5 separate regions of the Homo sapiens genome follow, and all the other regions are linked to region 4. The links are contacts of gene promoters, found by promoter capture Hi-C in blood cells and fetal thymus (Javierre and others, 2016). All regions are on one chromosome and are shown on one strand. The core of a region is centred on a gene start or on the middle of the fragment in contact, and the rest is flanking DNA. Distances in the headings are between cores, read along the strand shown.

Region 1 (3,850 bases), core at 867-3,366, 880 kb after region 4:
GTGGAGACAATGCTTTTCCAAAAGATGGGGTTTCAAAGTTACTGTTGTGAAAGAAATAGAGGATATTTATGTTTATCTTTGTGTCACACCATGCCTTTAAACGCTGTATTAGCTAGTGTCATTCATCTGCCAAGTGTCTCCCTCAGGATTCAGCATCATTTATAGAATGTCTTTGCATGCCAGTTCTGGGCTAGGCACTGAAGATGTAAAGACTTATATGGGGAGGGAAAATGGTGGCCATGGTAGGAAACATAGCAAAGCTCTCTTGGGAAGCCATAAAGCATGCCATATTAACAATGCCAGCCTGTGTGCTGAGTGTAGGGTGTGCCTGTTTGTTGGACTCGCAGATCATGTTATTCCAGAGCAATTGCTTTATCTGGATGAAAGGGCAAAACCGGGGCCTGAGACTGGTTTCCAGGCAGCACTGTTCACCATGTCTCATGTTGACAGATAAAGCACAAACTTACCTCTGAGGATCCATGGCTTTCTGTCTTACCTATTAAACCAGACCTCGACCAGACTCTGGGGAATGAAAGTCTAATCTCTCAGGTAGAAGGGCTTAAAGGAATCTTATATCCCTGAACTGAGGACAGTTAAGTTTCTATGACCACCAGCTGAGTACTGGAATTACTTTTCCAACAGCTGGATGATGGGAACTCTGAACAAGATACCCCAAGTGTCATGGCAAGGGTAAAGCCTCAGATTGTGGGTGGCCCCATAAGAAGTGGGGAGCTTTCATCCCAGTTGATCAGGGCAAGGAAGGTCTGTGTTTGACAAGTGGAAAGCATTGTAATGAAACTTGTTCCTACTTAGCTGAGAAGGAGGGTGTAGTCACGGAGGACTCTCAGCCAGCCCAGCCCAGTTTTCTCAGTTTATGAGAAACAAAAATCCAAGAAGTGTCCTGATGGTTGTCCCTTCTCAATAACTACTGCAATTTCTGCTTGGGAGGCATAACCAACAACAAGAAAACCAGGACAGCTCTAGGAGATGGGTCACTGCAGGCTCCAGGCCCAGGGCAGGGCATCAAGGGCAAGGGCTGCAACATCAGTAGGGCTGCCATCCTGTGCACATCCTACCCATCTTCAAAGCTTAGTGTAACCAACTACTCTCCCTTTTAGCTCTCCCTTCCCTCCCTGGACCACATGCAGCTCTCCCTCTTCTGATCTCCTCTTACAATGTGGTACAATTAAGCAATTTATTATATTAGTCTCATAGTCTAATTGTTCCTTCTATGTTGTGTTACCACAATGAGATCACAATTGTGTCTTTCATTTCTTTGAAATCAGAACACACAAGATCAGATATGTGGTAGGTATTTAATACTTAACCTAAATTAGAGAATCAGAAAAATGACTTTGGGGAAACATTTATATAGCTTCTGCCTTTAACACAATAGAAAACAGATCCAGAGAACTGCTGCTCTATTTGTTCTACAAGCATCTAGTGAAACTTCCAAGCCACTGTGCTGGGTGCTGTAGGGGGAGACAGAGATGCCCAAGAAAGGAGCACTGGCCTCACAGACCTTTCAGTGAGGCATGAGAAAGAGTACGTGTGCACCAGTTATCAAAGATGGAAACCCATGTGGAAGGTGAAAACAAGGCTGTGGAATCTCAGGTGAGGGAGGTAGTGGGTCAGCTGAGAGACTCAGATGATTTTATGGAGACAGTGGCACCTGAACCCAATCTTGAAGGATTTGATATGTGGGGTTTGGGGAAGAGTACCCAAGTTTGAATGCATTTTGGCCTTTACCAAGCTTTAAGTCCAATTTAAAACCAGACCACAGAGTCATATGTGCCAACTGTGATTGTGGCTACAATTCATGCTGAGTGCTATAGTTTGAATGTTCCTCCCTGACCCACCAAAGTTAACATGTTGAAAGCTTGATTCCCAAAGCAATGGTGTTGGGTGATGAGGCCTAATGGGAAGTGTTTGGATCATGGGGGCTCTGCCCTCATGAATGAATTAATGCGGTTATGGCAGGAGCATGTTCCTTATAAAAAGACGAGTTTGGTCCCTCTCTCTCTGTCCTTCTACCATGTTATGACACAGCAAGAAGGCCCTGGTCAGATGTCAACACCTTGATCTTGGACTTGCCAGCATCTAGGAATATGAGACATAAATTTCTGCTTTTAGCCAGTCTTCTCAGGTATGCTATGTTATAGCAGCGCAAAACAGACTAAGACACTGAGCCTCCAGAGGGCTTACTGAAAGAACACTTTGATCTGCCTGAATTGGAGCTCTTCTTGATGTGGCCAACCCCAGCTCCCCCATAGAAAGAAAGCTGCCTCTCTTCTTGTTTCTAAATTTCACTAGTCCCCTATTATCCACACCCCACAAGTGCAGGGAAGCTTCCAGTCCCACTCTCCTTTGGCAGAGTCAGGCAGAGACAGGGCACTGACCCCACCTGGTCTCGCCCCAGCACGTTAGACCGTGTGTTTACTCTACCTGCTGCAGTCCTGGCCCCCACTCTATTTTATGTAGGGTTCAAACTGTGCTCCTGGAGTCTGGGCATGAGTGCTGGCCACTTCTCTCTCAATTCAGCCCATACTCTGCCTCTAGAGTTTGCACTTCATCTGGAGGGATGCCAGGTGGAGCCTATTTCTGAGAAAAGCCACAGTGGTTGAGCAGTTCAGACAGCACAGACAGGAGCAACCTAGCCCTCTGCAGCTCAGACCTCTCCTCTTAATTCCTTACTCTTCCTTGGGGTTGGCTTTCCACAGCCCTCCAGCCTGAACAGCAGGTTCCAGACAAGTCAGGACACCCTTGTTTTCTCTCCCTGATGCTGCCTGGAACTCTGTCCTGCCCCACCTCTAGGAGTAGCAGCTCCAGCCTTGTTCTTGATTCTGCTCATCTGGCTCACCCTCACTGGGCATCTCTAGTGGCCAAAGAAAGTCTCCACGCAATATCCTTTTTTTTTATTTCTGTTTGCTTGCTTTTATCTCCCTTTTCTTATTCCCTTAGGATTTAGAGGGAGAGGAAAAGCATGAGGGTGCCAGGACAGCAGTATGGGAGGCACAGAGGAGTACTGGATAATGCACTGCTTTTTGCAAACTCAACTTAGAAGACTGCCCAATCAACTTGCTATTCTTTCTTCTTTCTAGACATGAGTCTTCAGTCTCCTGCCCTCAGCTTAGCTGGAAGCTGGATGACAGCCACATTAAGAGGCTTTCTGCAAGTGGCTTTTGGATGAAAAGGGGGCCTCTCAGGTACTCCACTCTCACGTTGCAGGCTCTGCAGCAGCTGGTCTATCTGGTGGCACTGGGAGTAAGTAGTATGGGAGACCCCTCCATGCCGGGGTCCCCTGGAGTGTCCTCCTCATAGCGTGAGGGTTCTTCTCAGGGATACTGAGGATAATTCACAATGGCTTTGTAGTTGCAATATTCTTTTTTTATTTCTTAAGTTTCTGTGTCCCAAATTTTAGTACAAATAAACATTTATATACATGGCAAGAAAATATGATCCATGCTAATCATTTAGTAAATGTGTGATTTCTTGTGATTTCACCTTGTCTAGTGTCACCCTCTTTGAGGCAGGGCAATCAATCAGGACATTAGCCATTTACTCTCCCTCACCTTCCAGCTACTCCTCACTCTTATCATCCGACTTTGAATGGGAGCCTCGCTCCTTCACCCTGAGCCGTCCATCAAGACCCAGCACTAGGGCCAGGTCTGGTGACGGTGGCCAGACTGCTCACACTGCTGCCCCAGAACATCCAGGTACTTTTAAACACTACTTGCTTAGGGCTTTCTGTGGCGTTGGACTGACTGAAAAGGCTAGGGGGGTGGCCATAATTGGTCCCACAGGCTTAGTATTTGAAAGTGTGGGTAGTAACCTCTAGACTCCCGGCCTG
Region 2 (3,924 bases), core at 1,370-3,869, 860 kb after region 4:
TTTTGTTTATGGTAAAAAGGTAGGGGTCCAGTTTCATTCTTCTGCATATGGCTAGCCAGTTATTCCAGCACCATTTATTAAATAGGGAATTCTTTCCCCATTGCTTATTTTTGCTGAGTTTAGATGGTTATTAAGATTGCTTATTTTTGCCAACTTTAGATGGCTTAGATAGTTATAGGAGTGCAGCTTTATTACTAGTTTCTCAATTGTGTTCCATTGGTCTGTGTGTCTGTTTTTGTACCAGCATCATGCTGTTTTGGTTACTGTAGACTTGTAGTGTAGTTTGAAGTCAACTAACATGATGCCTCTGGCTTTGTTTTTTGTTTTTTTGCTTAGGATTGCTTTGGCTTTGGGGCTCTTTTTTGGTGCCATATGAATTTTAGAATAGTTTCTCATAATTCTGTGAAAAATTATGTTGGTAGTTTGAAAGGAATAGTGTTGAATCTATAGAATACTTTGGACAGTGTGGCCATTTTAATGATACTGATTGTTCTAATTCATGATCATAGAATGTTTTTCCATTTGTTTGTGTCATCTCTGACTTCTTTCAGCAGTGTTTTGTAGTTCTCCTTGTAGAGATCTTGCACTTCCTTGGTTAGATATATTCCTAGGTATTTTTTGTGTGCATGGCTATTGTAAATGGGATTGTGTCCTTGACTTGGCTCTCAGTTTAAATGTTACTGCTGTATAGAAATGCTACTGGTTTTTGTACATTGCTTTTGTGTCCTGCAACTTTACTGAAGTTATTTGTCAGGTTTAGGAGCCTTTTGGCAGTCTTTAGGGTTTTCTAGGTATAGAATCATACCATCAGTGAAGAGAGATAATTTGAATTCTTCTTTTCCTATTTTCATGCCTTTTATTGCTTTCTCTTGCTTGATTACTCTGACTAGGACTTCCAGTACTGTGTTGAATAGAAGCAGTGGAGTGGGATTGGGCATCCTTTTCTTGTTCTTGTTCTCAAGGATAGTGGTTCCAGCTTTTGCTCATTCAGTATGATGTTGGATATGAGTTTGCCATAGATGGCTCTTACTATTTTGAGGCATGTTCTTCAATGCCTAGTTTGTTGAAAGTTCATAGCCACTAAGGGATGTGGAATTTTATCAAAATCTTTCTCTGCATCTATTGAGAAATCATATGGGCTTTGTTTTTAATTCTCTTTATGTGGTGAATCAAATGTATTGATTTGAGTATGTTGAACCAAACTTGCATACCATGAATTAAGCCTACTTGATTATGGTGAATTACCTTTTTAATGTGCTGTTTGATTGATTTGCTAATATTTTGTTGAGGACTACTAGGTTCCTCAACATAGGTTGCATCTATGTCCATCAGGGATACTAGCCTGTAGTTTTCTTTTTTCATTGTGTCTTTGCTAGGTTTTGGTATCAGGGTGATGCTAGCTTTGTAGAATAAGTTAGGGAGGAGTCCCTTCTCCTTGATTTATTGGAATAGTTTCAGTAGAATTGATACCAGTTCTCTGTACATCTGGTAGAATTGGATATGAATCCCTCTGGCCCAGGGCTTTTTTTGGTTGGCAATTTTTTTTTATGATGGATTCAATTTTGGAACCCTATATCGATCTGTTTGCAGTTTCAGTTTCTTCCTGATTCAATCTTGGCAGGTTGTGTGTTTCCGTTTCCTCTAGATTTTCTAGTTTATGTGCATAGAAGTGTTAATAATAGTCTCTGGGATCTTTTGCATTTCTGTGGGATTGGTTGTAATGTCACCTTTGTTGTTTCTGATTGTGCTTATTTGGATCTTCTCTCTTTTTTCTTTGTTAATCTAGCTAGCATTCTATTGATCTCGTTTATCCTTTCAAAAGACAAACTCTTAGTTTTGTTAATTCTTTGGATGAATTTTTGGATATCAATTTCCTTCAGTTCTGCTCTGATTATAGCTTTTTAAAAAAATTTTCTGCTAGCTTTGGGCTTAGTTTGCTCCAGTTTTTCTAGTTCCTCTAGATGTGATGTTAGATTGTTAATGTGAGATCTAACTTCTTTATGTAGGTGTTTAGTGTGAAAAGCTTTCCTCTTAACACTGCTTTTGCTACATGCCAGAGATTCTGATATGTTGTGTCTCTGTTTTCAGTTACTTAAAAGGATTTCTATTTTTGCCTTAATGTTGTTGTTTACCCAAAAGTCATTCAGGAGCAAGTTGTTTAATTTCCATTTAATTGTGTGGTTTTTGAGGGATCTTCTTGGTATTTATTTCTATTTTTATTCCACTGTGGTCCAAGGTAAGTTGGTATGATTTCAATTTTTAAAAATGTGTTGAGACTTGGTTTATGACCAAGCATGTGGTTGATCTTAAATTATGTTCCACATACAGATAAGAATGTATATTCTATGGTTGATGGGTGAAGTAGTCTGTAGATGTCTATTAGGTACAATTGGCCAAATTGATTTAAGTCCAGAATTTCTTTGTTAATTTTATGTCTTGATGATCTAACACTTTGAGTGGGATGTTGAAGTCCCTCACTATTAATGTGTGGATATCTAAGTTTTTTCATAGGTCTAGAAGTACTTGTTTTATGAATCTGAGTACTCCAATATTAAGTGCATATATATTTAGGATAATTAAATCTTTTTGTTGAATTAAACCTTTTATCACTGTGTAATGCCTTTCTTTGTCCTTTTTTACTGTTGTTGATTTCAAGTCTATCTGATACAAGAATAGCAAACCATGTTCTTTTTTTTTCCTGTTTGTTGTAATAGATCTTTCTCCAATCCTTTCCTCTGTGCCCATGGATATCATTAAGTGTAAGATGGGCCTTTTGAAGATAGAAGATGGATGGATCTTGCTTTCTTTTTTAATTTAACTTGCCACTGTGTGCCTTTCTGATGGGGCAGTTAGACCATTTACATTCAAAGTTAGCATTGCTATGTGAGGTTTTCATCCTATTGTGAAGTTGTTAGCTGGTTGCTTTGCAGTATCTATTGTGTAGTTGCTTTATAGGGTTTGTGGACTATGTACTTAAGTGTGTTTTTGTGGTAGCAGATACAGTTCTTTAGTTTCCATGTTTAAAACCTTGAGGATCTCTTGTTAGGGTGGTCTAGTGGTAAAAATTTACCTTAGTAGCTGCTAGTCTGGAAAAGATTTTATTTTTCCTTTGTTTATGGAGCTTAGTTTGATGGGATATAAAATTCTTGGTTGGAATTTGTGTTCTTTAAGAATGCTGAGTAGGCCCCCAATCTCTTCTGACTTGTGTAAGCTTTCTTCTGCTAAGAAGTCTGTTGTTATCCTGATGAGGCTCCCTTTGTAGGTCATCTAACCTTTTTCTCTAGCTGCCCTTAGGATTTTTTCCTTAGTGTTGACTTGGGGCAGTCTTGTCACTTTATGCCTTGGTGATGATTGTTTTGTATAGTATCTTGCTGATATTATATGTATTTCTTGTACCTGGATGTCTACCCGTCTAGCAAGATTAGGGAAATTTTCTTGGATTATTCCCTCAAATAGGTTTTCCAGGTTGTTTACCTTTTCTCCTTCTCAGGAATGCCAATAATTTGTAGATTTTTTCACTTTATATAATCCTACCTTTCTCAAAGACTTGTTTATTTTTTAAAATTCTTATTTTTTTTTTCTGAATGGATTAGTTTGACAGATTGATCTTCAAGCTCTGAAATTTTTTCTTCTACTTGGTCTACTCTATTGATAAAGTTTTCAATTGTATTGAGAAATTCCTTATGTGAATTTTTTAAGTTCAGAAGCTCTGATTGATTTTTTAAAGATGTTTATCTCTTCCTTCATTTCCTGGATTGTTTAGAAGTTTCTTTGTGTAGATTTTCAACCTTGTCTTGAAATTTATCGAGCTTCCTTGATACCCATGCTGTGAATTCTTTATTTGTCATTTCTGAATTTCCATTTTGGTTAGTGACCATTGCTGGAGAGCTAGAAAGATCTCAAATTAACAAATAGTGTCACAGT
Region 3 (4,177 bases), core at 1,262-3,761, 900 kb after region 4:
ATTCTGATAACCCCTTATTAGATATATCATTTGTAAATATTTTCTCCCATACAGTAGGTTGCCTTTTACTCTGTTGACTATGTCTTTTGGTATACAGAAATTTTAATATTTGATGTAACGGATCTATTTTTTCTTTTGTTGACTTCCATTTTGGTGTAATATCCAAGAAATCATTGCCGAACTAAATGTCATTAATCTTTACCCTATATTTTCTTCTAAGAGTTTTATACTTTTAGCTGTTATGTTTAGCTATTTGATCCATTTTGAGTAAATTTTTGTATATGGTACTGTAAGGTAAGGGTCCAACTTCAGTCTTTTGCATGTGGCAGGTGTAGTTTTACCTAAAGTTCCACAGATGTTTCTGGTTTGAGAACCACTGTGTTATGCTAGTGATATCCAGCCAGTTCCCTCTTCCAAAGATCATATGATGCATGTGTTTTTTTAAAAAGAAATTGATGAAGGGGCCATGCACAGAAACTATTTTTGTACAAAATTCACATATGCTAACCAGATTATGTTTGCTATTTCAGGTTTATTTAAAATGTGAAATAACTGCTGCCCACACTGATGACATTCTCATATTTTTTCTGCTTTTTCTCCATCTACTAATTGTCTCAGATATCTCAAACAAACAGCAAGAAAAAGATCAAGCCAATAAACAGGCATTTGAAAAGTGGCCCTGGGTTAGTTACATAGTTGCGTCCTGGAACAACAACAACAAATCCTCCTGGGGGCTATATCTGCATCATAGCCTCACAGTGCTCTCTAAATAAAGCTTCTCTAAAAATGAGCTCACAATCTAAAATTACAAAATCTAGAGGAAATAACCATCAACTGTGAGTGTTGGCAGAAAAATCTAACAGCAAAATTAGACATTTGAGAGTTTTATATAATGAACTTATCAAATACAATACACTTTGTTTAATCTGATTAAGGAAAAATAAAAATTATAAGAAAGATAAATGTATTTCTACTTTAATATAGTATATTTTAGAATCAACATGCTCAAGGTAAATTGAGCTAGAAAACTTTCTTTCCAGATTACAAGCCTACTCCCCATCCCCCAAAATAACTAAGAATATTATTAGAATTATTGCAGTGGAGATTAATTTATTAATGAGTAAAACCTATGAGTAAGACCTCTGAATAAAATAAATTGATAAAGTTAAATTCCCAAGGCAAGAAAGTGGCTCTATCTTAGAGCTTTCAGAAACAGACGCACCCTGCCAATACCTTAATCTTTGCCTAATAAGGTCTAGGTTTGACTCCTGAGCTACAGAACTGTAAGATAATCAAGTTGTGTCATTTTAAGGTATTAAAAAATTGAATTCCCATTTAGGATGAAAACTCTTCATAAATATGGGGAAACGGGGAATAAAACACCTACAGCATGAAAAGCAGTTTATAGCATGCAACCTTTATACTACTACATGTACAGTATGATCTCCTTTCATTAAAAAGTAAATATATATGTATATACTGTAACTCTCTAAGGTGTTAACTGTAATCTCTGAGTGATAGAAACATAGCATTTTTAAAAATATTTAGGTATCTATATAGCCTAACTTTCCACAATGCACATATATTGCTTTTCAATAATAAAAGAAAAAACAAAACTACAGCAAACATCATACTTCATAATGAGATGTCAAACATATAAGTCAAAAATACACCTATTAATTCTTCTATTTATCATTTTCTTATAGGTTCCAGCTAGCCCAATGAGGGAAGAAAAAAACTTAAAATGGAGTAAGAGGAAGGAAAAGGACAATAATAAAAAACTCAAGCAGAACAGAGCCCTCAGAAATAATGCCGCATATCTACAACCATCTGATCTTTGACAAACCTGAAAAAAAAAGAAATGGGGAAACGATTCCCTATTTAATAAATGGTACTGGGAAAACTGGCTAACTGTATGTAGAAAGCTGAAACTGGATCCCTTCCTTACACCTTATACAAAAATTAATTCAAGATGGATTAAAGACTTAAATGTTAGACCTAAAACCATAAAAACCCTAGAAGAAAACCTAGACAATACCATTCAGGACATAGGCATGGGCAAGGACTTCATGTCTAAAACACCAAAAGCAATGGCAACAAAAGCCAAAATTGACAAATGGGATCTAATTAAACTAAAGAGCTTCTGCACAGCAAAAGAAACTACCATCAGAGTGACCAGGCAACCTACAGAATGGGAGAAAAATTTTGCAATCTACTCATCTGACAAAGGGCTAATATCCAGAGTCTACAATGAACTCAAACAAATTTACAAGAAAAAAACAAACAACCCCATCAACAAGTGGGCAAAGGATATGAACAGACACTTCTCAAAAGAAGACATTGATGCAGACAAAAGACACGTGAAAAAATGCTCATCATCACTGGCCGTCAGAGAAATGCAAATCAAAACCACAATGAGATACCATCTCACACCAGTTAGAATGGCAATCATTAAAAAGTCAGGAAACAACAGGTGCTGGAGAGGATGTGGAGAAACAGGAACACTTTTACACTGTCGGTGGGACTGTAAACTAGTTCAACCATTGTGGAAGTCAGTGTGGTGATTTCTCAGGGATCTAGAACTAGAAATACCATTTGACCCAGCCATCCCATTACTGGGTATATACCCAAAGGATTATAAATCATGCTGCTATAAAGACACATGCACACGTATGTTTATTGTGGCACTATTCACAATAGCAAAGACTTGGAACCAACCCAAATGTCCAACAATGATAGACTGGATTAAGAAAATGTGGCACATATACACCATGGAATACTATGCAGCCATAAAAAATGATGAGTTCATGTCCTTTGTAGGCACATGGATGAAGCTGGAAACCATCATTCTCAGGAAACTATCGCAAGGACAAAAAACGAAACACCACATGTTCTCACTCATAGGTGAGAATTGAACAATGAGAACACATGGACACAGGAAGGGGAACATCACACACCAGGGCCTGTTGTGGGGTGGGGGGAGGGGGGAGGGAGAGCATTAGGAGATATACCTAATGTTAAATGACGAGTTAATGGGTGCAGCACACCAACATGGCACATGTATACATATGTAACTAACCTGCATGTTGTGCACATGTACCCTAAAACTTAAAAGTATATTAAAAAAAAAACTCAAGCCAGTTTACAGATAAATGATTAGAACTTAAAATGAAGTTCAGCAAGATTAGCGGATATAAAGTTGACATACAGAAATCATTTGCATTCTCAAGACACCAGCAAAAACAGAAACTTAAGTTTGAAAAAGATACAGTGGTGGACATCTACTTGCCCCTCCAGATTTCCCTCCACCCTTCTCTACACTGGTGGTGCCTTGGAAGACTGGCTGGCAACTAACTGTCTGTCTTGCTCTTTGAGCTCTCATTGGGTTTAGCTTGTGGTTGCATCATCAGAAGATCCAATGAAGGAAGAAAAGAAGATGAGGTTTGTGTTGCCTCAACTGTCCCTCTGAGGTTGTTCTTGGTGAGCTGCATCCTTTGACCAAAGTTCACAGCTGCCATCAAAGGGGTCTCTTCACATAGCTCTTTCTATCTTTGGGCTCTAGAAAAGTGCCTTCTCCCCTTTCCCTTAGACTCAGGAGTAGTGATATTTCCCCAAAGTTACTGGCTCCTGGGTACTGTACAATTCCTGCTGATCTCCTTAAACCTCGTCTGCATCTTTTTAAATGACTCACTTTGAGGGTACTGTTTCCTGTTTCGACCCCAAATAATAATATAGATATTATTTATGACAGCAACAAATAATTTAAAATATCTAGGAATAAATCTAACAAAAAAGCATGAAATCTTTATAGAGAAAATTATAAAACTTAAAAGACATTTTTAAAAGACAAAATAAAGATGCACCGTGTACATGAATAGAATTTAAATTGTTTGGCTTTTTAAAAGTTGATACATAAATTCAATTAAATTCCAATAAAGTTCTCAACAGTTTTTTCCATGAAACTTGACAAGGAAAATCAAAATTTATATAGAAGAATAGAGGGCAAAGAATAGCCAAAAATGTTCAGAAGAACAAATTAAGGTCTTGCTCTACAAGGTAGCAAGTATTATTATAAACAGATCATAATTAAAACAGTATGAAATCAGTACATTATAGATTAATAGGGAGAGATAGTGGTGCAGGGACCTTGTTATCCATATGGACAAAAGAGTAATAA
Region 4 (3,790 bases), core at 1,198-3,697:
ACCTCCATTTCAAGCCAAAGCCAAGACAATGAAGACGGCTCCCACAGGGTGCACACCTCCAGCAAGTGAATACAGTAGTAGCAGCAGAGCATGGTCGTGGAAGTTGGGGAAAAGCGAGAAAACCAAGTGGGCAAAATTATGTCATTTTTGTATTTTTCAAAATGAATGTTCTTTGGACTTACATTAGCAGCTAGAAATGAATGTAAATGTTCTTTCACTTCAGCAAGGCATTCTTGGAAGGATGTCATCCCACTGTTAATAAAAATACAGGCGGGGCACGGTGGCTCATGCCTGTAATCCCAGCACTTTGAGAGGCCGAGGTGGGCAGATCACCTGAGGTCAGGAGTTTGAGAACAGCCTGGACAACATGGCGAAACCCTGTCTCTACTAAAAATACAAAAAAGTAGCCGAGCATGGTAGCGGGTGCCTGTAATCCCAGCTACTTGGGAGGCTGAGGCAGGAGAATCATTTGAACCAGGGAGGCCGAGGCTGCCGTAAGCTGAGATTGCACCATTGCACTCCAGCCTGGGCGACAAGAGCAAAACTCTGTCTCAAAAAAAAAAAAAAAAAAAAAAAAAAAAAAAAAAACACATAGAGGGCCACCCCCTAAGAAAAACTTAAAACCACTGATTTGTGGTCAGGTAGCAACATCAGGGTGGAAATTTTAATGCAAACATCATATTTGGGGTACAAAAGTAAATTAACCAAGATCCCCGGAGACTATCACATTACTAAAAAGGGCAGTGAAAACACATTTTCTTGATAAAATATATGACCTAATTTAGCCAATATAAGCATGGTTACATTTTCCTTAGTCCTACTTCTCTATCATTTTTAAGACCATGTGACAGGTGTCTCAGGTGTCATCTCAGATGTGCCATGTTATACACTGTGTTCTGTCTGCAGGGCTTCATCATACTTCCAGAATAAGTTTAATCTACAAAAATGGACTTATGTTAACACAAATATCAACCACAAAACCTTAAGGATGTTGTTAGCTTTGGCTTTTTGAAGGAAAATTCTCCACATTTATGCAACTCCATTATCTACGTGGGGGAGTCTCCGGAGGGTCTCCAAAAGCTGACCAAACCCTAAAGTATTTTTTCTCCTTTTAATCTGAAATCATTCCCGAATATGACAAGTCAAATTATCACTTGGTTTTCCCTGAATAGGACAACCCTGTATTATAACCTTGACCCTGACAAGGACTGCTCGGTTCTAATGCCTACACTCCCACCTCCTTGGCAGAAAGTGCCCTGGCAGTATTGACTGTAAACAGAGAGGTAGAAACAAAGGGATCTTCAGTAAAGGCACCATCTACTGTCTAAAGTTGGAAAGCACCAATCAACAGGTTCTTCAGGTGGAGAGGTGGATTAGGGAAGAGCTATGAGGACCTGAGATGAGTTCTAGATCAGGACTGATCTTGAGCCGTCCGAAGAGTGGCTGGTGGGAGCAACTCTCAAAGCAGAGGTTTTCAAACTTGCCTGCACATTAGAATCACCTGCGGCGTCTTAAAAATTCCATTGTCCAGGCTGCAACCCAGGCAAGCCGAATCCAGATCTCTGGGAGTGGGACACAGGCACCAGTATTTTTTAAAACTCTCCAGATGTGGGGCCAAGTTTGAGAACCAATGCCCGCAAAAGCATTCCCAGCGAGCTTTGAGCAACGTTTTGAGCGGCATAAGCAGAGTCGGGAGGGCAGCGGCCTTAGGGTGAAGAACACACAAAGCAAATATACAAAGTTTCAAAAATCCTGTGTAACTAACTCCAACATGACAGCCAAGTACCTGTCTAGAGGCCAAACAGTGATGCAACTTGGAAAAGTCCCGGGGAGAGCTAGAATGTGTGCTCCGAGTGAGGCGGGGGCTCTCTCGGGGATGACCTCCCTGGGCGGCGCAGTGGTCTGGAGGATCGGGGAGAGAAAGGTCACACGCCCCTTTCTTTCCAGGGGATGGTCCGGCCGAGCACGCCGAGGACTTGTGTACGACAGGATAGGTCAGAAACTGCTTCGTGTGAGTCTCTCCCAGCTGTCACTAGAGCCGGAGGGTCCAGGCAGGGGTGCGAAGGCAGAAAGTCCCTCTTCACTAAAGGGAGGTTCTGCAGGGCCTCCTCCCTCCCACCCCGCCCCGAAGCGGGTTCCCCAGGGATCGCCCGCATCTGTTCTGCGCCTGCCCTCGGCGGGGCGCGGCGCGGGAGTCCGGGTCGCATCTTCGAGCCCCAGGACACGCGCGGCGCGGGTCACCGAGAGTGGACGCGCGGACTGAGCACAGTGCACCTGGCTGAGCCCGAACCCCTGGGGGTCCCGCCGCCCTGGGCGGCCCCTAGCACCCCGAAACCCGGCTGCCGGCGCACACCCCGCCCCGCTCCAGCCCGGAGCTCACTCACCGCCGCCGCCGCCTCCTCCCGCGTCCAGCTCCCGCCGCAGCCAGCAGAGCCCGGCCGGAGTGCAAGGGCCGCGGCGCCGCCGGGAGGCCGAGCGAGCCCGCGCCCCGCCCCGCAGTCGCCGCCCGCCCTCCTGGGAGGAGGGGCAGGGGCTGGCCGGGGGCCTGGACCCGCCGGGGCTGCCGGCGGGCCCAACCCTCCCTTCAATCCGCCCGCGGCCCGTCGGGACGAACCTACCCAGGAACCCCCGCACCACCCGCCCTCGGCTCCGCTGGGCCCGGGGCTGCGCTTAGACCTCACCCCTTCCCGGAGCCGTTCGTCCTTCCACCTCCCCTCCGCCGTCACCGGGCATTTTTCTTCTCCCAGCCTCGGCCTCTCCAAATTCCTGGCCTGCAGGAAGCCCTCCCTATTTCGCGCTCTCGACTGCGCCGAGCTCAGTTTACCCCTTTCCCTTCCTTTCCCTGCTTAGCCTTTTTCCCCCTCACTGTCAGAAACTTAAGGGATAGCGCTCTTCTGCCACCGCAAACCCACACCTATTTATTGAGCACCTACTGTGTCTAGACACTGGTGGGGAGGTTATCCCACTTGCGCGGTAACAAGAAATGTCTGTCTCTGTTGGAGAAACAGTAAAGTGAGGCGCCTCGTAAGGTCACACAGCTGGCGGTAGTAGGGCTGGGATTCGAATACAGTTTTTAGGTCCTTGTTTAGACCCACCCCACGATAAACTGCGGCACGCCTCTCGCTAGCTGTGAGAACTTGGGCAAAATGTTATCAGTTCTAAACCCCAGTTCACTCATCCGTAAAATGAAAAGCTGGATACTTCACCAGCTATGAGGATTCCCTGAGAAAACAACAACCTGTACTTTTTTTTTTTTTTTTTTTTTTTGGAGATGGAGTCTTGCTGTTTTGCCCAGGCTGGAGTGCAGTAGCGCGATCTCGGCTCATTGCCTCTGCCTCCCGGGTTCAAGCGATTCTCGTGCCTCAGCCTCCCGAGTAGCTGGGACTACAGGTGGCCACCACTACGCGCGGCTAATTTTTGTGTTTTTAGTAGAGACGGGGTTTCACCACGTTGGTCAGGCTGGTCTCGAACTCCTGACCTTAAGTAATCTACCCGCCTCGGCCTCCCAAAGTGCTGGGATTACAGATGTGAGCCACTGCGCCCTGCCCAACCTGTACTTAATACATGTTTGCTGACATATTGAATGAAATAGACCCTTGAAAACTTAACAATTCAAAACAATATAAAAGGACTTGAAAAAGTAATAGGTTGGTGCAAAAGTAATTGCAGTTTTGCTATTACTTTCAATGGGAAAAGCCACAGTTACTTTTGCTCCGACCTAATAATAGTGATTCATTGCCAGGAAAGAAAGAAAAAAAAAAAAAGATGCTACTTATCCCAAGTGGGCAGC
Region 5 (4,299 bases), core at 3-2,502, 940 kb after region 4:
TTCGTGTTAATTTTTTAAATATTTGATAGAATTTTCTAGTGAAACCATCCTGACTTGGGGTTTTATTTTGGAGGAATTTTAAGTTATTAATTCCGTCTCCTTAATAGTGATAGGACTATTCAGATTACCTTATTTCATATTTGGTGAGTTTTGGTAGCTTGTGTTTCTCAAGGAAGTGATCCATTTCATCTAAGTTGCCAAATTTATGTGTGTATAATAATTTGTAGTATTCCTGTATTATCCTTTTGATGTCTGTAGGGTCTCTAGTGATATCCTATGTTTTATTCCTGATATTAGTTATTTGTTTATTCATTCATTTTTTTTTTCTAGGTCAGCCTTGTTAAAGGTCTGTCCATTTCACTGATAATTTTTAAGAACCAGCCTTTTGTTTCACCAATAATTGTCTATTTTCTATTTTTAATTCCATTGATTTCTACAGTTTTATTATGTTTTTCCTTCTGCATATTTTGGGTTTACTTTACAGTTCTTTTTATAGGTTCTTGAAGTGGGGGCTTAGATTATCGATTTGAGACTTTTCCTACATACATGCATTTAGTGCTATATATATACATTTTCCTAAATGTATCCATTTAGTGCTATAAATGTTTCTCAGAACTGCTTTAGCAGCATCTCACAAATTTTGCTGTCTCACTTTTATTAACTACAATGTATTTATTTTCCTTGGCATTCCCTCTTTGGCCCATGAATTATTTAGAAGTGAGTGACCATTGTAAAATTATATTTTTTAGTATGTATGAAATTTTTCATAATAAAATGTTCAGAAAATAAAAGCTTATAGGAAAGGACTTAACTGTTCCAACTATATTTGAATTTCCCTAAAGAAGTACTGATTGTCATTGCTAGATAATTGTTTTTAAATTTTAGAGAATTTTGGAGAATGAAGGGAATATTAGAAGACTAGAGATGGGTAAGTGCAGCTTTGATTTTGAGGAGGAGGTTGGAAACTGAAAAATACTTATGGGTGGTTTGGACAGCTTTTGTAAGCAAGATTCTAGAATGATTCATAGTTACCATAGACTTTAGATGAATAAACTCAGGTGTGCAAAAAAGGCTTTTGTAACAGCTCTTTCCAAAGCAGTTACGTGTTAATTCTGAGTAGAGAAACAAGATGGTAAATATAAATTAAAATTTGTTCATGAGTAACAGAAAACAATCCAAATGTAAGCATATTCTTTATCCAGCTAGTTTTAAAGGGATGGACAAAGTTATCATGAAAAGCCTTACTTTTTCAGTTTGTATGATTTCATATTGTAATACTAAATTTAACCAAACTCTATCACTCTTTCCTTATAAATCTGGTGTAAGGAAATAGTTACTAAATTAACTTTCAGCTGTATTGTTTAGGAAGAAGCAGAAAAGAAATTGAGAAAGCAAAAAGAGATGAAGCAAGATTTTGAAGAACAAATGGCCTTGAAGGAATTAGTGCTACAGGCTGCAAAAGAGGAAGAGGAGAACTTTAGAAAAACTATGCTAGCTAAATTTGCTGAGGATGATCGAATAGAATTAATGAATGCTCAGAAACAAAGAATGAAGCAGCTGGAACACAGGAGGGCTGTGGAAAAACTTATTGAAGAGCGTCGCCAACAATTCCTTGCAGACAAAGTAAGAAAAAGTTGTGGGGTTTTTTTGGTCATTATCATTAAACAGCAATAGCTCATCTATCATCCACTAAACATTTACTGAGAAGCTTTATATGCCAGACAATGTTAGTATGTTTACTAATATATATATAAATTTTCTGACCATTTTTGCTTCTAGAAAATATTTATTGATGCTTTCTATGTGCTAAACACTGGTTGGTATTGAGAACATAAAAGGTAAATAAAACTAAGTCCATGTCACTTATGAATTTATGGTCTTGGTTAAGAAAAATATATAAAAAGTAATTATAAATATGTCATGTACATGTGATAATAGGTTATAGAGCTATGGATGTTTTGGTATGGCAGAGAGAGAAACAGATCATGAACACCCTGCATGCTATTTTAAGAAGGTGGGCTTTTCTAAGGGAAGCCACTGAAGATTGAAAAGCTGTATATTAAGATCTGTACTTTGAAAGACGATTCAAGTGAGAGCATTGAAGGTAGATAAGAGATGAGTAAGCTCGGAGATAGGGAGATCAGTAAGTAAGTTATTATAATAATCCCAGTGACAAGTGGTGAAACCCATGCAAATAGATAAGGGATCCACCCGAGAGATGTTAAGGATACGGAATTGATGGGGCTTGGTGACCAGTGAGATCTAGGGTGAGAGAAGACTTAAGGCTACCCCTAATAAATAATACTGTCATTCCATCTTTTTAATTATTTTTTTAATATTTTTAAGTTCCAGGATGCATGTGCAGAACATGCAGGTTTGTTACACAGGTATACATGTGCCATGGTGGTTTGCTGCACCTATCAACCCGTCATCTAGGTTTTAAGCCCTGCATGCATTAGGTATTTGTCCTAATGCTCTCCCTTCCCCTTGTCCCCCCCACCCCCCGACAGGCCCTGGTGTGTGATGATGTTCCTCTCCCTGTGTCCATGTGTCACTTCCATCTTTAATGGGTGACTGGGTGACATCCTAAGGAAAGAGTATAGAGGAAAAGAAATAGATTTTGAGGGTGCAAATAATTCTATTTTGTCCACCCAAAATGATTTGGTGGCCCAGGGGAAGATTACTAGTTGGAAATGTAGATTTAAGTGTTGGAGAGGGAATGAAGTTTTTGGCTTTGGATACATTGACTTATTTATGTCTCATCCGTAAAACTAAATACTTATATTGTCTCACTAGATTTTGTGGTTTAAGAACCAAATGGATAATATGTAGGTGTTTTGAAAATCGGTAGGAAGAGAAGAATTTAGAGGAAGACTAAGTGAGACTTACATGACTTCTTTTAAAACTATACAAAGTAGGAGTCAAAATAATGCAGATGTTTCAAATATGAGAAACTCATGGGAATACAAGTGCTGTTATATTTCAGATTGGAGCTCATCTGTTCTCAGAAGCTAAGCAGGATCAGGCCTGGTTAGTACTTGGATAGGAGAAAGCTCCTGGAAAAGTTAGCAAGACAACTAACTAGAAATCAGACTAAAAACTAAATGGAAATCAGATAAAGCCACCTAATGCATAGATACTTATACAAATAATTTTTGTCTTAATTTTTAAAGACTTATAAATGTTCCCAATATGAAGCTGTCGGCTTAGTTTTGTCCGTTTGATTGGGCAACATTTTTGTTCTGGCCCCAAGTCAAGGACAGATCTTCGTGATGAAACTCATTATACAATCCTATAAGGTCTAACCATGTTTTTTGGATTTCAGAGACATTCCTAAATAGGTATCTGTAATTCTGTCTACCTCTACGAAAATCATACGGTCAGACAAAATCTGAAACTTCCCAGGAGGTAGTTTCCTACACCAAAGCTATTCAGAATTTGTCCTAAATGGATAAGTTGATTTCGTAACTGCCTAAACAATTTAATTTACTATAAATTTTTCTTTTTAGGATAAACATTGAATGTGGCCTGCCAGATCCTTCTTAGGAAAATCTGCATTAGCCCAAAGTAGACTCTACCATTGGACAAAAATGTATCAAGTTTGCTTTCCCCTGTAACATTACAGAACTTTCCTGTATCTCCTCTTTATAAGGAATGGATGAATTAAGATAGAATTAGGTTTGAATGCAAGTACAGTCTCAAATTAACAGTGGCTTAGTAGATTACTGTTCTTTCACGTAGTTCAAGTCATCTTTTCTATATGGCCCAGAATTTTGATGTGATTATTTAAGAGTGAGCACTTTCCTAAGAAATACTAGTGGAATTCTCATGCTTCATATCATCTTTATATATATATATATGAAAATATCCTTTAGATATTTCTGATCTTCTTTATTCACTATTTTTTGTTTTACACTGTAAACTCTTCAGCATCTGGTATATGGTAAGCATTCAGTAAATATTTACTGTATTAGGCAGTCACTCCTTTGAATATTTTTTCCCTTGGTAATGAAGACACTTTCCTGAAAATATTTGTTTGCCTCCTTGTAATTTTAAAGGAATAATGACAGTAAAAAATACATAGATATGTGTACAGACATAAAATATATATTTTAAAAATATATATTATCTAGAATCTTTTGAACTTAGTGTCATAAATAGTTCATCAATTTTATCTAATTCATTGCATGAGTAGTTTTATTTGAAAACTTCGTATAAGATTAATGTACTTTGTGATAACAAAATTTGATCTGCATTTCCAGCAACGTGAACTAGAAGAGTGGCAGTTGCAGCAAAGGC

The links. Contacts are between HindIII fragments. The CHiCAGO score rates a contact against its expected background, and 5 or more counts as called.
Region 1: a contact is called between a fragment that was not itself captured here and the fragment with the promoter of CGNL1 in region 4, in 2 of 17 cell types (total CD4 T cells and non-activated CD4 T cells). The highest score is 8.0, in total CD4 T cells.
Region 2: a fragment that was not itself captured here is called in contact with the fragment with the promoter of CGNL1 in region 4 in 1 of 17 cell types (naive CD8 T cells); the score reaches 6.0 in naive CD8 T cells.
Region 3: a fragment that was not itself captured here is called in contact with the fragment with the promoter of CGNL1 in region 4 in 1 of 17 cell types (naive CD4 T cells); the score reaches 5.3 in naive CD4 T cells.
Region 5: a fragment that was not itself captured here is called in contact with the fragment with the promoter of CGNL1 in region 4 in 1 of 17 cell types (naive CD8 T cells); the score reaches 5.7 in naive CD8 T cells.

Annotation. Positions count from the first base shown.
Region 1 is chr15:56,491,752-56,495,601 of GRCh38, reverse strand. It overlaps LOC105370832 (a long non-coding RNA gene), which reads left to right. Exons shown (of 4, transcript XR_007064652.1): 4 at 3,102-3,454. Among named protein-coding and RNA genes, the nearest start is that of MNS1, 29 kb to the right of the region's middle. The HindIII fragment of the contact is 469 bases long and covers 1,882-2,350 here.
Region 2 is chr15:56,519,369-56,523,292 of GRCh38, reverse strand. All of the region lies in intron 1 of LOC105370832 (a long non-coding RNA gene), which reads left to right. Among named protein-coding and RNA genes, the nearest start is that of MNS1, 56 kb to the right of the region's middle. The HindIII fragment of the contact is 1,188 bases long and covers 2,026-3,213 here.
Region 3 is chr15:56,474,774-56,478,950 of GRCh38, reverse strand. No RefSeq gene overlaps it. Among named protein-coding and RNA genes, the nearest start is that of MNS1, 12 kb to the right of the region's middle. The HindIII fragment of the contact is 3,468 bases long and covers 778-4,177 here.
Region 4 is chr15:57,375,162-57,378,951 of GRCh38, reverse strand. CGNL1 (cingulin like 1) reads right to left here and starts at 2,447. Exons shown (of 19, transcript NM_032866.5): 1 at 2,385-2,447. The HindIII fragment of the contact is 10,841 bases long and covers 1-3,790 here.
Region 5 is chr15:56,431,462-56,435,760 of GRCh38, reverse strand. It overlaps MNS1 (meiosis specific nuclear structural 1), which reads left to right. Exons shown (of 10, transcript NM_018365.4): 8 at 1,366-1,623; 9 at 4,263-4,299. It also overlaps a transcript of TEX9 not described here. Among named protein-coding and RNA genes, the nearest start is that of MNS1, 32 kb to the left of the region's middle. The HindIII fragment of the contact is 916 bases long and covers 795-1,710 here.